Regions from separate parts of the Homo sapiens genome. Here region 2 is linked to region 1. Evidence: promoter capture Hi-C in human tissues and cell types (Jung and others, 2019). All regions are on one chromosome and are shown on one strand. The core of a region is centred on a gene start or on the middle of the fragment in contact, and the rest is flanking DNA. Distances in the headings are between cores, read along the strand shown.

Region 1 (2,700 bases), core at 43-2,542:
AGGCCCAGCGCAAGGACAAAGCCTGGAGCACCTGTCCAAAGCCGTGGGTATTGGCGAGAGACCAGGCTGCTCCTCCCACGATGCAATGGAGTCAGTGCCCCCTGGCCTTTCTCCCCCTCCCCACTTCCGGCGGGCCTCCAGCCCCCCCCCCCCTTCCCCTTCCCTCCCTCTGGTGACAGATTTATTCCCTGCTCCAGACAAAGGAGCTCAGCTAGGCGGCCAGAGGCACCTGAGCCCAGCTCTCTAAGAGCTCCTTCCTGGGCACAGAGGACCAGGAGGGCTTGGGGGTGGGGTGCTGGGTGTAGGCTCCAAACTACTGCCTCAGCAGTTTGGCAGTGGGTGGCTAGACAGAAAGACAGCTGAATGTCCAGCTGCCCCTCACGGTGACCTCTAGCTTTTCTGAACTCCAAGGATCCCAGCCAGTGGGGGATGGGTGGGGTGGGGAAGTTCCCCATCTAAGCTCTTCCCTCTGGCCCGAGGAATGGGAGATGGGTATCTTAGGTGGGGATGTCAGGCAGAGTTCAAGGGGTAACGATCCTCCCTTCTCAAGGCCTCCGAAGTCCCCTGAGACTGCTCTCTTGGGGAAGGGAATGGCATAAACTCTCAAACTCCAGGAGGTTCCCTCTTCTCAGCCACCAGTCAGTTTCCTTCTCGAACCGGCCCACTCCCTGTCTCACTTTCCCTCCAACACTCCCCGCAGCGGCAGGTAGTGAACCCGGGCTTGGGGAGGTGCCCGGCGCTCCCTATTTGGCTCGCTCCCTGCACCCAGGGGTGGAGAACTCTCCCACTCTTGCGCTGAGGAGCCCGCCTTGGCTGTGCCCATGGGGAGTCAGTCCTGTTGAGTGTCCAGTCCCGCCCTCGAGCCTGGAGTCCCCGCGCTCCGCGACCCGCGCACTCACCGGTGATGAGCACCGCGCGAGTGGCCACCGGCAGGCGCTGCGGGCGCGCCAGGCGGGACAACGCGATCCAGCCGGCGGCGGCCAGCACGGCGAGTGCGGCCGGCGGGGGCAGCAGGCGCTGGCACAGCCAGTCGAGCGCGGCCAGCAGCGCCAGCGCCGCCAGCAGCGGGCGGCCCAGACGCAGGTCTGAGCGCAGCAGCTGCAGCAGCGCGCGGGCAGCCACGAGCAGCCAGGCGCCGCCCGACGGCCAAGGCCAGCGCTCCATGGCGGCCCAGCGGGCTGGGGCGGGGCGGGGCGGGGGCCGGGCCGGGGAGCGGGGAGAGAGAGCTTCTAGGCCGGGGCGCGGAGTGCGGGGGTACACCGGCCTGGGGCGCGAGAGGGACACTCGCTTTCTCTGCTCGCCCTCGGGCCGAGCTTATGAAGAGCCCCGGGGGCGGGGGAGAGGGCGGGGAGCGGGAGGGGCGGGGGCGGGGCTTTCCTTCACTTCTCTCCCGGCACCCCCCGCAGGGCAGGTGCTCCCCCCCCGCCCCGCCCCCTCGACCAGATTCGATTTGGAAAAAGCCGGAACAAAGTCCCAAAGTTGCTGCGCTCGAGGAGCCGCCTGGCTGCGGGCGGTGCTTGGGAGAGGGCCCGTCGGTCCAGCCCGGGTGCCCGGCCTCAGCTCTCCGCCGCGCCCCCACCCACACGCCCGGGGCCGCCAAGCCGCCGCGCTCAGGTGAGCACATGCCACTCACGCTTGTTCGGGACACCTGAGGACACGCACAACCGGCATCCCGGTGCCCTTTGCTGATCGCACCACCGCGGCCGCCAAGCCTGCAGGAACACCGCGAGGAACCAGCCGGTGCTCACCCGGTCTCCGCTGCCGCTGCCGCTGCCGCCCGCGCCCGTACACGCGCCGCACTCCCACGTGGTCGGCTGCGCCAGGTCCCTGGCGCACACACCCTAAGGCGCGCTCACCCCTGAGCAGCTCGCGGCCACAAAACCTGCCTGGGACAGGGGCTGGCGGGGGAACAGGACGACCGCTCCCGGTTCTTGGAGTCTCTGCCCCGTCTTTCCCTTTCCTTCCAGGGCTTAAACCTGGGGACGCACAACCCCACTTCCTGCCTCACAAATGTATGTGTGTGGGGGTCAGTGGAGGGTGGGGTGTCAGAGGAAGCACCTAGGTCTCCCATTACTTATGGCCCACCCCCGCCAACCCCAAGAGCCAGGCCAGAGGGACGTCGGTGAAGGCAGCCTCTAGGACAGGGTGGTCCCTGCCTTGCTCCCCTGAACCCCCAGGGGGTAAAATAAGTGGTATGAGTGTGGGTGGATTTTTCTGCCTGCGTGTGTGAAGGTCTCCATGCTTGTGTGTGGCCCAGTGGCCCCCCACCCTGCCCACCCCCGTGTCTGGCACCCTGTGCCTAGCATCCATGCCAGGGCTCTGCCAGGCACTGGGAGTTGGTGCCAGTACCTGGCTGCAGGCTTGATGCTGAGAGCAGTAGGTGTAGCCCTCGACAGAGGGGTCCCTGCTTCCCGTGGGCTTCCAGGCCGTGCTCAGTGCCTCATCCCTGCCCTCCCAAGATCCTGGGAGGTTGTGGACTCCCTGTCACACTTCCTAGCCCTGTTGCTCATTCTCTCTTAGGTGCCCAGGCTCTGCCAGGGTTTCAGGGCAATGCCTCCTCCAAAGCCCTCTCTGCCACCAGACACAGCCCCCTGGTGAGCCAGGGAAATCTCAGGGGAGGCTGGGAGCCAGACCCACCTAAAGGGAGAGTCTCTGGGTGGAGGACCAATTTGCCCTGAGCCACTCCTGTGCCTCCACCTA
Region 2 (2,700 bases), core at 16-2,515, 500 kb before region 1:
CCAGGGCAACCCCTTGGTCCTACAGCAAGAAGCCAGAACTGTTGGAATGAATGGCAGCCCTCCCTGGAGAGGCAGCCTGTTTACTGAATACAGAGGATACGTTTACAAACTGAATACGCATAATAAATAACTGCACATTCTCCATCCACAGGCCATGGCATGAAGGCCCAAGTGGGTCTATCAAAGGCCCACATCTCCAAACCCCCTGTCCTGCCCTCAGGACCAGGCCCACCCTGGGCAAGAGAGAACGTAAGCCCCAGGGCTTCAGGTCCCCAGAGACACTTGGGGAACTGGGGGGAAATTCTGAGGCCATGGGGCTTGGTTCTCCACTGCCTCCTGCCCAGGGGGCATTGGGGACGGTAGGAGGATGTGTCTAAGGCATAGTCGACTTGGCACAGAGTGGTCTCTTTAGTTTTGTTTCCCACTGGAGGTGGCACATGCAGGAAAAGGGCCTGGCCCAGGCTGCCGACCGGCAGAAGCTGAGTGGGAACCAAACCCTCCTGCAATGGCAGGGGCCCTGCCGTCAAGCTAAGGCCAAAGCTGGGCCCTGGCCCCATTCTACCCACTGAAGGCAGCTGTGGAGGAAGGGGCTTGGGTTCCAGCCTGGTTTGTGGTAGGGGGAGATACCACAAAAGAAATGGGGATGGTTCTGGCTCAGGCCTCTGGGAAAGCAGCCACCCAACCCCACCCACCTCCCGCAGGGGCTCCTTCCAGCTTGAGGCTCAGTGGGACCCAGACTGGAAGGTTAATGCTGTGAAGGGAAGCAGCACAGGGTGGACGGGGCAAGGCCAGCTGTGAGAAGGCAGTGCCCCTGGCACCCTGGTTTCAGAGGCAGGTCACACAGTATGGCTAAGTTCCAGGGAGGGGTGCGCAGAAGCTCAGCAGAAGGGGAGAGGTGAGCAGCCCGGGACCCTCCCCCAGGGCGGCAACTCCTACCTTCCCATGTCCTCATGGAGGACTACAGGTGTGCACCATGGGTGGGTGTGCACGATGGGCAGGTGTGCACGATGGGCGTGCAGTGATCACTCCCAGGCTGCCAACACCCATGCAGACACCAGATGGCGCCTTCGTGCAGCTGCAGAGGAGGGAGCAACAGAGCCTGAAGGGAAAAGGCAATGGGGCTGCACCAAAGGATAGAACCCAGGCTGACACTCGACCCTAATCGGGAGGACCCCCTTCCCTCTGCCTTGGCCCCCAGGTGCCCCATTCCCCAGGTAGCAGCAGTGGGGCTCCCTTTAACCACCCCCAGTTGGGAAGGAGGCACCTGGGGAATGGAATGGACATCCAACGGGGAGAGGGAGGTAGCGGTGGGCTCTACAAAGAAGGCACCAAGGGCGGTGGGCTGAGACCCCTCAGAATCTGGAGAGGCTGGAGCCTGGGCAAGCCGATGACCAGCATGGCCACACAGTCCAGAAGGGTGAAGGTCCACGCCATGGCCCTCCACCAGAGGTCCTGGGACCAGGAAGGCTCCCTGGAGGCACCATGAAGGAAGACAGATCTTGGCTGGGAGGTGGAGGGCTGTTTCGACCTAGCCAGGGGCTACGGGTCCAGTCAAGGCACAAGCTTTGTGCCTACCAGGGTCTCCCACTGGAGCATAATCTTAAGGATCAGGATGCATGGGAATGTGTGAAACCAGGGAGAAGGGCTCTGTGGAGGAAAGGGGGTCCCAGAAGTAACTGTCCCAAAGGGTCCTGAGGCCACAGGACACTCCACCCAGCACTGCAGTTCCCTTTGATTGGGGAAAAGTCAAAGGGCAAGGGAGACAGTGAAGGCCAGGTCCTATCCCTTCCCAACTCCACCAGAGCAGCTGCCCACCAAGAGGGGTATCAGTGCCAGGCCAGGCTCCCAGTTCAGGGGGAGTCACAGCCCCCTGTGCTACCTCTACTCTGTCACACCTGGCCCAGGCCCATGGTGAGGACAGGGGCTGCTGAAGGCACAGAGAAAGGGCTGGAGCCAGACATTCTTCACCTACTGTGGGCCACATAGGCCTATCTCCAGAGAGGGCATCGGACCCAGATGGCACCACAGTGTGTGGCCAGGCTGGGTCGTGCTGCATGTGTGCACAGCCAGGCGGCTCAGCCATTGTATTGCTGCTGGTAGCGCAGGTTGAGCTCCCGCAGCTCCCGTTCCCGCACACGGCGTGACTTATTGGAGCGTGTGGAGCGGCTGGAACGCGTGGACTGGGCAGATTTGGTGCTCTGGCAGCGCGAGGAGGCACGTTTAAGGAGGTTCTGGGATATGGAGCGGTGCAGGTTCTTCATGGATGAAGAGGCAGCCATGCTCACCACCCACGGGTGCCTCAGGGCCTGCAGTGCAGTCATACGGGCTCCAGGGTCCACTGTCAGCAGGCGGTCAATGAAGTCCTTGGCCAGGTTGGACACACTAGGCCAGGGCTAGAGACCAAGGACAAGCATTAGAGTGAGAGCATCTGACACTGCCCACCCCATCTGGATGAGGCCACTACTCAGCAACCCTCCCCTTTCCAGAGAGAGGTGCTGCCCCTCCTCTCATGTAGCACTTGGGGCCTCCCCGCCCAACGCTGGCTCAGGCTGAACAAGGGCTGCTCTCCAGGTGATGGAGTCTGGCAAGGAAGGAAAGGACCTGTGCACTCTCCCAGGGAGCAAATTCTATGGTGCACTGGACCCAAAGCCTGGCTCAGGGAGATGGCCTCTGCCAAGACCCCCCCGAACTTGTCCCAGG

What was found. Contacts are between HindIII fragments. The study calls those that stand out against the background at their distance.
Region 2: a contact is called between a fragment that was not itself captured here and the fragment with the promoter of HSD11B2 in region 1, in 1 of the 25 tissues and cell types used here (dorsolateral prefrontal cortex).

Annotation. Positions count from the first base shown.
Region 1 is chr16:67,429,713-67,432,412 of GRCh38, reverse strand. HSD11B2 (hydroxysteroid 11-beta dehydrogenase 2) reads right to left here and starts at 1,292. Exons shown (of 5, transcript NM_000196.4): 1 at 900-1,292. The coding sequence starts at 1,164. RefSeq lists silencers at 1,174-1,353, 1,574-1,623. The HindIII fragment of the contact is 17,409 bases long and covers 1-2,700 here.
Region 2 is chr16:67,927,018-67,929,717 of GRCh38, reverse strand. It overlaps PSKH1 (protein serine kinase H1), which reads right to left. Exons shown (of 3, transcript NM_006742.3): 3 at 42-2,393. The coding sequence ends at 2,076. CTRL (chymotrypsin like) reads left to right here. Exons shown (of 7, transcript NM_001907.3): 7 at 1-144. Among named protein-coding and RNA genes, the nearest start is that of CTRL, 3.5 kb to the left of the region's middle. RefSeq lists enhancers at 162-872, 2,245-2,700. The HindIII fragment of the contact is 3,913 bases long and covers 1-2,700 here.